Linked DNA regions of Homo sapiens: regions 2 and 3 are each linked to region 1. The links are contacts of gene promoters, found by promoter capture Hi-C in human tissues and cell types (Jung and others, 2019). All regions are on one chromosome and are shown on one strand. The core of a region is centred on a gene start or on the middle of the fragment in contact, and the rest is flanking DNA. Distances in the headings are between cores, read along the strand shown. Region 1 overlaps SAE1 (SUMO1 activating enzyme subunit 1). Region 2 holds the start of SLC8A2 (solute carrier family 8 member A2). Region 3 holds the start of FKRP (fukutin related protein).

The links. The method cuts DNA at HindIII sites, captures the fragments that hold promoters and counts their contacts. A contact is called where the count stands out against the background at its distance.
Region 2: a contact is called between the fragment with the promoter of SLC8A2 here and a fragment that was not itself captured in region 1, in 2 of the 25 tissues and cell types used here (dorsolateral prefrontal cortex and spleen).
Region 3: a contact is called between the fragment with the promoter of FKRP here and a fragment that was not itself captured in region 1, in 1 of the 25 tissues and cell types used here (hippocampus).

Annotation. Positions count from the first base shown.
Region 1 is chr19:47,152,363-47,156,017 of GRCh38, forward strand. It overlaps SAE1 (SUMO1 activating enzyme subunit 1), which reads left to right. Exons shown (of 9, transcript NM_005500.3): 4 at 536-678; 5 at 2,752-2,851. Among named protein-coding and RNA genes, the nearest start is that of SAE1, 23 kb to the left of the region's middle. The HindIII fragment of the contact is 5,176 bases long and covers 1-3,655 here.
Region 2 is chr19:47,470,141-47,473,391 of GRCh38, forward strand. It overlaps SLC8A2 (solute carrier family 8 member A2), which reads right to left and starts at 1,753. Exons shown (of 10, transcript NM_015063.3): 1 at 1,649-1,753. The HindIII fragment of the contact is 16,110 bases long and covers 1-3,251 here.
Region 3 is chr19:46,744,134-46,747,384 of GRCh38, forward strand. It overlaps FKRP (fukutin related protein), which reads left to right and starts at 1,924. Exons shown (of 4, transcript NM_024301.5): 1 at 1,924-1,957. It overlaps STRN4 (striatin 4), which reads right to left and starts at 2,317. Exons shown (of 18, transcript NM_013403.3): 1 at 2,016-2,317. The coding sequence starts at 2,297. RefSeq lists silencers at 1,863-2,092, 2,303-2,352, 2,363-2,512, 2,553-2,652, 2,693-2,742. The HindIII fragment of the contact is 7,098 bases long and covers 1-3,251 here.

The DNA.
Region 1 (3,655 bases), core at 583-3,082:
TTCAGATAAAGTTTCACACCGCAATCTGTGGAAAAATGATCTCAACAGGACTTGTTTATCTTCTTTATCTTAACATATCAATCAAAAGGAGGGGGGTAAAAAGCCCTTGTATTTAAACATGACCTTTGGGTCAATTTAAAAAACTGGTTTTGCTTGTCCCTGTAGCTTATTTGGATTTTAATAGATTTAGCAGTATAGAAACAACTTGCTAAGTTATTTTTTTTATGAGAACTATGAAATGTGTATATGTTCGTGGATTACAGAAAACATTTGTTGAATGGCTTTTACTTTTTAGCTAAACACATTTTATTTTGGCTGCAGAACGTGACGGTCTCATAACTTATATTTTCTACACATTGAAACCTGCAACTTTTCTTTTGTCTTCTAGCCATAGGGCCCAAAGAACCTGTTGTACCAGTTTGAAACATGCTTTGAGCATGCCCAGAGAGACTGTTCATTAAGATTTATTTAGACATCAGGGCAGTGATTCACAGTTTGCAAAACTCAAACCCAGCCAATTTCTTTCTTTCTGCAGGTGTGTCTGACTTGCTGCTCCAGGGATGTCATAGTTAAAGTTGACCAGATCTGTCACAAAAATAGCATCAAGTTCTTTACAGGAGATGTTTTTGGCTACCATGGATACACATTTGCCAATCTAGGAGAGCATGAGTTTGTAGAGTAAGTGTTGGGAGAGGAGGGGAGAACATAACATTTTCTCCTTTTTATACTTTTTTTTTTTAAATTATGTATTTATTTATGTGTAGAGACAGGATCTATGCTATGTTGTTCAAGCTGGTCTTGAACTCCTGGGCTCAAGTGATCCTCCCACCTTGGCCTCCCAAAGTGCTGGGATTATAGGCATGATCCACTGCGCCTGGTCTGCTGACATGTTTTCAAGTTGAGAGATAGTAAAATGATTACAAAATAGTTGGGCGATTCTGGAGGCATATTCAACCAAAGTCTACCTTGGAAAAGGTGTCCAATATCCAGAGAGACTCCTCTGGTAGAACAAACAGACCTCATCCTCTCATTTTGAACACTGAGGCTGCAGAACTTGGTAATTCTTACATGACAGGACTTGCCGTGTTTTGACTTTGTAGTCTCTAGGTGAAAGATGGCAGATGATACATTATTGTAAAACTATATGAGTTAGGTATTTTGGCTGCAGTTTCTGACCACCCCCTCCAAAACCCTCCAACTTGCTAATTGAGAGGGAAAGACAGGCTCTGTGAGATAGGAGCTTCCTACCAAGAGACTGAGAACTCTTCTCTTGTTCAGCCTCTCAGGCAAGTCACTGAAATTTCTCTGGTCTCCAAGTTTCTTGCCTGTAAAATCAAGATGGGGGAAGGACAGTCATGTTCCAGACATCTCCTAACTCTAGTGTTTTATGGCTTTAGGATAATCTAGTTCTTTGGGCATATTATTATTATTATTATTTTATTTTTTGAGACGGAGTTTTGCTGTTGTTGCCCAGGCTGGAGTGCAATGGCACCATCTCAGTTCAGAACAATCTCTGCCTCCTGGGTTCAAGCCATTCTCCTGCCTCAGCCTCCGGAGTAGCTGAGATTACAGGCATGCGTCACCATGCCTGGCTAATTTTGTATTTTTAGTAGAGACAGGGTTTTTCCATGTTGGTCAGGCTGGTCTTGAACTCCGGACCTCAGGTGATCCACCCACCTCGGCCTCCCAAAGTGCTGGGATTACACAGGCGTGAGCCACCGCACCCGGCTATTATTATTATTTTTGAGACGGAGTTTTGCTTTTGTCACCCAGGCTGGAGTGCCATGGCACGATCTTGGCTCACTGCAACCTCCACCTCCTGGATTCAAGTGGTTCTCCTGCTTCAGCTTCCTGAGTAGCTGGGACTGCAGGCACCCGCCACCATGCCCGGCAAATTTTTGTATTTTTAGCAGAGACGGGGTTTCACTATGTTGGCTATGCTGGTCTTGAACTCCTGACCTCAGGTGGTCCACCCACCTCAGCTTCACAAAGTACTAGGATTACAGCCACCATGCCTGGCTTCTTTGGGTATATTATAAAGAAGTTATAGTAGTGGGAAGCAATCCAGATTATTTTAACATAAGCTGCCCACAGCAGAGGGGCAGAATTAAGTTTGGCTTTTTTTTTTTTTTTTTTTTTTTTTTTTTTCTGAGACAGACTTTCACTCAGTTGCCCAGGCTGGAGTACAGTGGCGTGATCTCAGCTCATTGCAACCTCCTCCTCCTGGGGTCAACCAATTCTCCTGCCTCAGCCTCCCAAGTAGCTGGGATTACAGGCGCCCACCACCACGCCCGGCTAGTTTTTTGTATTTTTAGTAGAGACGGGGTTTTGCTATGTTGGCCAGGATGGTCTCAAACCCTTGACCTCAGGTGACACGCCCGCCTTGGCCTCCCACAGTGCTGGGATTACAGGCGTGAGCCACTGCACCCAGCCAAGTTTGGCTATTTATTTCATGATTCAAGTAGAGTGTTTACAAAGTAATCACTTTGATTTATTGAGAGCAGCTGTGTGCCCAGCAGTGTGCTGAGCAACTTACGCTGCTCTGTTTTTCCCACAATAATTTCCTGAGTGCCCAACAGTGTACCAGACTCATCATGTTATCAATGGCAGAGCTCGATTTGAACCGAGATCTGACTCCAAAGCTTTTGCCCTTAACCACCATCCCGATCTGTGACCTGGAGAGGCTTTTTTTGATTCCAATAACATGATTCCTAGGGTAAAATTACATTCTCTCCCCTTGTCACCCTCTAGGGAGAAAACTAAAGTTGCCAAAGTTAGCCAAGGAGTAGAAGATGGGCCCGACACCAAGAGAGCAAAACTTGATTCTTCTGAGACAACGATGGTCAAAAAGGTATGTGTAACGTGGGGGCAGAGGTCAGAAACCCTGGGGCCTTGGAGGGGTCAGGCAATGACGATTGAAAAGGATAAGAGCAAGCACTTCTTGAAGGGGTGGGGCGGGTGCTTGTCCCATCTAAAGGGAGGCTGCCACAGCTTAGTGTCAGCCAGCTGTTGCTGTGAGGGAATGTGGGCCCAGTGATTCCAGATGGGATTTTTCAAGACAATGAGAAATGCAAACTTTTGTAGGCTCTGTCCCAAACTTTTTTTTTTGTGTGTGTGAGATGGAATTTTTTCTTGTCGCTCAGGCTGGAGTGCAATGGCATGATCTCGGCTCACTACAGCCTCCACCTCCTGGGTTCAAGCAATTCTCCTGCCTCATCCTCCCAAGTAGCACCCCTGGCTAATTTTTTTTTGTATTTTTAGTAGAGACGGGGTTTCACCATGTTGGCCAGGCTGGTCTCGAACTCCTGACCTCAGGTGATCCACCCGCCTCAGCCTCCCAAAGTGCTGGGATTACAGGCGTGAGCCACCATGCCCGGCCCCATACCCTTTTTTTTTTTTTTTTTGAGATGGAGTCTTGCTGTGTCCAGGCTGGAGTGGCACAATCTCAGCTCACTGCAACCTCCACGTCCCAGGTTCAAGAGATTTTCCTGCCTCAGCCTCCCAAGTAGCTGGGACTACAGGTGTGTGCCACCACACCCAGCTAATTTTTGTATTTTTAGTAGAGACGGGGTTCCACCATGTTGGCCAGGATGGTATTTATCTCTTGACCTCGTGGTCCACCTGCCTCAGCCCCACAAAGTGCTGGGATTACAGG
Region 2 (3,251 bases), core at 503-3,002, 320 kb after region 1:
GCGCTCCCATCACCTCAAAATGGTCCAGTGTGGGGATCACACCACAGAGCTTGGGTGCTCGAGGCTGTGATACACTGATAATACGTAAACTGAGGCCCAGAGGAGGAACAGGGCTCTTAACCTAGTGCTCTTTAAAGCCATCTGAAGCCCCCTCCGTGGGCACTGTCACACAGGGCTGGGACCTCACCTGCAGCCAGGGAGACATCATACACACACACACACACACACACACACACACACACACACACCAGGGCTACAGGCACAGCCTCGTACCTTTTCGCCATCACTCACTCTCTTGCCCACCTTCTCCAGGGCCCCCTTCTCTCAAGGAAGGCAGACAGTGTGTTGGCCAGGGCCCTCTCAGCACCCCCCACTGAGACAGTGTGAGGCTGGCACACCAGGAAAGGGATGGAAGTGAGACTGCAGGAAGGACTGGCCCGGTCTAACTCAGTACCTAGTGCTTGCCCAGAGCAGGAAAGGCGCTCAGTAATTATCAACAAGAATGAATGAATCAAGAGCTGGACAAACAGCAAGAGGTATGGAAGTGAGACGGCAGGAAGGACTGGTCCAGTTACACGAGGAAGACTGGGGAGGTTAGATTGAAGGGAGGTCTGGTCTCATCTCTACTACAGAGGCTACCGGTTAAACTGCAAGAAGGACCGGCCTCAGAACGCCAGAAACAAGGCAGGGGGAGGTGGGCTCGGTCCTCAGGGGAGAGCTGGGGTGGGTGCCGGCTGGGAGGAGTGGAGAGAGCAGGGGAGCTCTGCTGAAGTGGGGAGAGGAGTTTAGAGGACTCCAGGCCTGGGGGAGCCCACTCTGCGGGTGGGGGGGTCTAATTCCTCCAGGTCCCCCCTGCCAGGGGCGGAGACAAAGGTGTGTGGGAGGAGGGTGCACTGGCTCCCAGGGAGAGCCAGAGAAGAGGAAAGAGAGAGAGAAACAGAGACTGAGATATCCAGAGACAGAGATGGAGACGAGGGGGAGATGGGGAGGGAGGGAGAGAGAGAGAGAGAGAGAGAGACATGCGGACATGGGAAGAGACAGAGACACAGAGAAAGCAGAGACAGAGAGAGACACAGGAAAGCTGAGACAAGGGAGAGAGGCAGAGACACAGAGACACAGAGAAACAGAGATGGCGCAAGAGGAAAGGAGAGAGAAACCCAGGACTTAGAGACAGAGCCCCAGAGAGACTCCGAACAGACCCCGGCACAGAGACACAGAGAGAGGGAGACAGGAGTGAGAGACTGAGAGACAGGGACTCCCAGAGGCGGCCAGACTCTGCTAGACAGAGACCCCTGAGACATGTGGAGAGACAGAAAGATGAGACCCAGACACAGGAAGGCGGGGGCAGAGGTAGAGAGCGCGAGGGGGGGTGCCCCAGACGGGGTGGGGGCGGGGTGTCCTCGCCCCCCAGTACCCAGGCGGTCCCCCTCCCCAGCCGCCCGAGAACCAGGAGGGACTGAAGGTGTTGGGGCGGCTGGTGGCACTCCCACCCCACAGAAGGTACGCGTGCTGGGCCAGGCAGCCCCCCACCTCCATAAACCAGCCCAGGGAAGCCAGCTCCAGGCTTCCCGAACCGCCCCCACTCCGCACCTGGGGTAACCCCGTCCTTTTCCCACGCCCCCACCTCCCCACCAATGGGGTCTCTTACCTGCGGCTACAGCCTGGAGCAGGTCCCCCCAGCGCTGGGCTGGCAGTGGTGGGCGACTCCGCCCGAAAGAGAGAGAGAGATTGAGAGAGAGAAAAGCCTGAGACTGAGAGGGAGAGCCGGGGAGGAGGGGAGGGAGAGGGGATAGAGGGAGGAGAAGAGGAGAGGGGAGGGACACGGGGGAGGGGGAGGCGGCGAGGGAGCGAGGGAGGGGGAGGAGCCGGAGAGAGGGGGAGGAGGCGGAGGCGGGCAGAGGGAAGGCGGTGCGGGAGGCGGGGGGAGGCCCGGGGAGGGGCCTGGGGGAGCAGGGAGCCCGAGCCTCCTCCCCAGCCTCCGGGTTCAGCACCAGAGGCAGGGGACAGCACCGGAGGGCGCTCCTGTGTGTTTCAGAAGCAGCCCCCGCCCCCCAACACACACACACACACACGCACACACACACACGCACGCAGTCTCCCAGCCATACAAGGGCCAACAGCTACAAATAGTTACAGACTTACAGAACTAGGGGGAGGGCAAGAATGTTTAGCTGGAGTCAGATCCAAATTCACATACTGTGCCTGCACAGCCTCACAAAGGAGGCCAGAAACAACCACAAAGACACCCATTAATAAGAATAACAACAGCTGCCATACATACAGGCAGCCCTGACCACGTGCCTGGCATCGGCAGCACATTATTATTATTTGAGACAGGGTCTCACTCTGTCACCCAGGCTGGAGTGCAGTGGCACGATCTTGGCTTACTGCAGCCTCAACCTCCTGGGCTCAAGCAATCCTCCTGCCTCAGCCTCCTGAGTAGCTGGGACTACAGGTGCCCGCCACCACCACGCCAGGCTTTTTCCCTCCATTTTTTTTTTTTAGGAGATGGGATCTCACCATGTTACCCAGGCTGGTCTCCAACTCCTGGGCTCAAGCGATCCTTCTGCCTTGGCCTCCCGAGTAGCTGGGACTACAGGTGCCCACCACCACCACGCCAGGCTTTTTTTCTCTTCATTTTTTTTAAGAGACGGGGTCTCACTATTTTACCTAGGCTAGTCTCCAACTCCCGGGCTTAAGCAATCCTTCTGCCTCGGCCTCCCAAAGCGCTGAGATTACAGGTGAGAGCCACCGCACAGGTGAGAGCCACCGCACCTGGCATGTTCTAATGTTTTTTATAAATTTAGGTAAATGCTATTATGAGCTTCACTTACAGACAGGGAAACCAAGGCATGAGGTGGTAAATATGGCTCCAGATTCTACACCCTTAACTGCTGCACCGCACAATTCCCCAGGCTGAGGACGGGTCAGGTCAAGAAGAGACTTGCAGGCTGGGTGCGGTGGCTCACGCCTGTAATCCCAGCACTTTAGGAGGCTGAGGCGAGCAGATCACTTGACGTCAGGAGTTGGAGACCAGCCTGGCCAACATGGCGAAACCCTGTCTCTTCTAAAAATACAAAAATTAGCCAGGCCAGGTGGCACACGCCTGTAATCCCAGCTACTTGGGAGGCTGAGGCAGGAGAAATCGCTTGAACCTGGGAGGTGGAGGCTGCAGTGAGCTGAGATCATGCCACCGCACTCTAGCCTGGGTGACAGAGTGAGACTCCATCTCCAAAAAAAAAAAAAAAAAA
Region 3 (3,251 bases), core at 674-3,173, 410 kb before region 1:
TGGTATGTGCTCACTAAATTGCAGCTGGTACCGTTATTGCTGAGTGAGGTAATGACACTGCCTCTGCCTACATCACAGGGCATTGTGAAGATCTGATGAGATGTATGCTGGGAAAGAGCTTCGGAAGTAGAGAGTGGGACAGAAGTGAGAGCAGTTACATAAGGATTCTGCTCCCATCCCAGCCCCAAGCCTCAGCCACCACAAGTGAGGGCAGGGGGAGAGTTACTGGAGGGTCTTTACTCATCCTATGAACAAAATGCTTTTTTTTGAGACAGGATCTCACTCTTTTGCCCAGGCTGGAGTGCAGTGGTGCAATCATGGCTCACCGCAGCCTCAACCTCCGGGGTTTAAGCAATCCTCCCACCTCAGCCTCCTGAGTAGCTGGGACTACAGGCGCATGTCACCACACCCGGCTAATTTTTGTACTTTTTTGTAGAGATGAGGTCTTGCTATGTTGGCCAGGCTGGCCTCGAACTCCTGGGCTCAAGGGATTCTCCCACCTCAACCTCCCCAAGTGTTGGGATTACAGGCGTGAGCCACCGCACCCCATCCCTACCGACACAATTCTCATCAGCTATTTATTTGGGTACCAGCTTCCTACTAGATAGCAAACGGCAAATCGGAAGGGGAAAGGTGGGCTGCTACAAGCAGGTAATGACAATTTCTGCTAATAATAACCCAGTCCAAGAATCTTCAGACTTCCAGCGGGCCATTCCTGATCCCTTCAAATCCGGACATCTCCATGGTCCTCCAGTCACTGCCAATGGACCTGACGCTCCACGAGGTCACAAACCCTAGCCCAACTCCTCAGACTCTTCCATTCAACATCCCTGTCCCAAGCTACCCCAAAAACCACGGGGTCTTTTCCCAAGACTTCCACAAACATATCCCCTTCCCCCCAACCCCAGTCTACCCCCGTTCCGAGATGCCTCCTCATGTTGCCTTCGGGCTCTACAAAATTCTCCCCCCTAAAGCATCACCCCAGGGTAACCCCTAACTCGTCCTCATTGGCACCATCCCAGGACCCTCACCTCCATACTGGACATGCCCAACACCCCACACTCCAGTTCAGGGCTCTCTACCTACATCCTACAACACACGTGCCATCTCAGTGCCATCGCGCCCACTCCTGCACACCCCCAAAGTGGAACTTCCACTCTTAAGCTCTCCCATCCAGGCTCCTAGGGTACATTCCCTGCTCTGTCCACACTTCCACTCCAAAGAACCCTTCCCTGCACTGTGCAGCCACACATGCCCGGGATCCCCAAAGTTTCTCCTCAGAGGGGAAGGCACACACCTTCATCCTGGACCCCTTGAAACCCTCCTCCCACCCCTCGGGTCCTTACACAGCCCTCCTTCCGTGCCCACCGTCCAGTCGCCCCGAAACACACCGATCCCAGGTTCCCGACTTCCTCTCCCTAAATCCTCCCGGTTCCCCATCTGGACCCGCTCTTTCCCAGCGGGTCCCAAGTTCCCCCCTTGGACGCTCCCACCTCCAACCTGCACCTGGCTAGGGCCATGGTCGGGGTCGGGGTCGGGAGTCCCTCGGCGCCCGGCAAGCTTCTGCTTACTCCCACAGGAGACCACTCAGGTCTCCCAGACCCCTCCAGCTCCTCTCCACACCCTTTCCCGAGTTCTCTTAGCCTCCCCTCCAGGGCTCGAGTCGCCTCTCTCAGGAGCCCCGCGGCCAGCGTGCTCAGTCCCAGTCCCAGTCCCACTCCCAGCTGGTTGTGGTCCCTCCGCCCCTTTCTCTCGGCCGGTCCCGGTGATCCCTCCCACCCCCGGTCCCTCCACTCCCACCTCGGGCCGTCCCGGTCCCGTCCCACCCCGGAGTGCCCTCAGGACACCCCTCGGACGGCCCCTCACTCGCCCTCCGGGACCGTCGCGGTCCCCTCCCGCCCCCCCGCCGGCCGTCCCGGCGGCCATTGCTCCAAGATGGCGGCGGCGGCGGCAGCGGGTGAGGCCGGGCCGGGCCGGGCCGGGTTGGGGGTCGGGGGTCCCGGGACAGCGCTCACCTGTAACTCGGCGCGCTCGGCCTCCCAGCGGGCTTTCTCGGCTTCGAAGCGCGCCCACTCGTGCTGGATAAAGTGCAGGATCCCCGGCAGGCTCAGGGGCTCCGGGCCCGCCGTGGGCCCGGGGCTGCCTCCGCCGCCGCCTCCCTTACCTGCCGGGCCCGGCCCGGGGGCAGGGGCGGAGACCGGGGCCGCCCCAGTGGGGCCAGGGCCCGCGCCTGAGCCGAGCGGACGGCAGGAGGAGGCGGCGGCGGCGACCGCGGCGGCCGCTCGCTCCTCCATCATGGAGGCCCCGGGGCCGGCCTGCGCGCCCGCTGTGCCTCGCGCGCCTGCGCGGCCGCGCCAACACCCCCCCCCCTCCCCCGCCGCAACCACCGCGCGCGCGCCCGGCGGGGGACAGTAGGAAGGGGGGCCGGCGGCGAGCGCGAGCCTCGCCCACCCGGGTCTACACCGAAGGGTAGCGTGCCCGCGCGGGGGCCGGCGGGTGGGAGATCGCGCCCCGAGGAGGGCGAGGGAGACCCAGGCCCCGCGCGACGGTCCCCCTCGCTGGAGTGAGACTGAGGAAGGGGCCGCTTTCTGCCCCCCTCCTCCCACTTCGCCCCAGAGAAAGAGCCTTACCCCTTCCACACCCAAACACCACTCTCCTGGACAATTACTTTTACTCTGAGAGAAAGGGCGACCAGCAGTGGCCCCATCCTCTCTGATTGCCGGCCAGGTTGGTTGTCATGGTAACCCTTCCCCAGCGGTGGGGGCGAGGTGGTGGGGAGCAGCCTTCCCCTCGCTTCCACCTTTGTGGTTATGGAGCCCCAAACCTCTTAGGACTCTGCACCAGGAGAAGGTTGCTAAGGTAACCTAAGTGTCCGTGGTGGTCCTTCTGCTCCTATCCTCATTGATTACTATGGCAACCTCCCCCCCACCTAGCATTCAGGTAGAAAGGACCCCAGCCCCAAGGACACTGATCTCTAAGAGAAGCACCTCTTCCCCAGCCCCTCCCCCATAGCCACCTAGTTGGCATTACCATGGTAACCGTCTTCCCCTTCCCATCGTGGGAGGCCCATGCACCAAACTAACCAGGTGTTTTTATTTAGAGGAGATGCTCTGCTGAGGGGCAGTTGCTATGGTTACAGGGCCTGGACCTTCCTCCGGAAGGTGAGAAACAGGCAAGTTCAAGGCCTGGTTACTATGATAATAGAGCAGCCCCCTTCGAGTGACCCTAGGAACCAAGCCCAACAAAGGAGG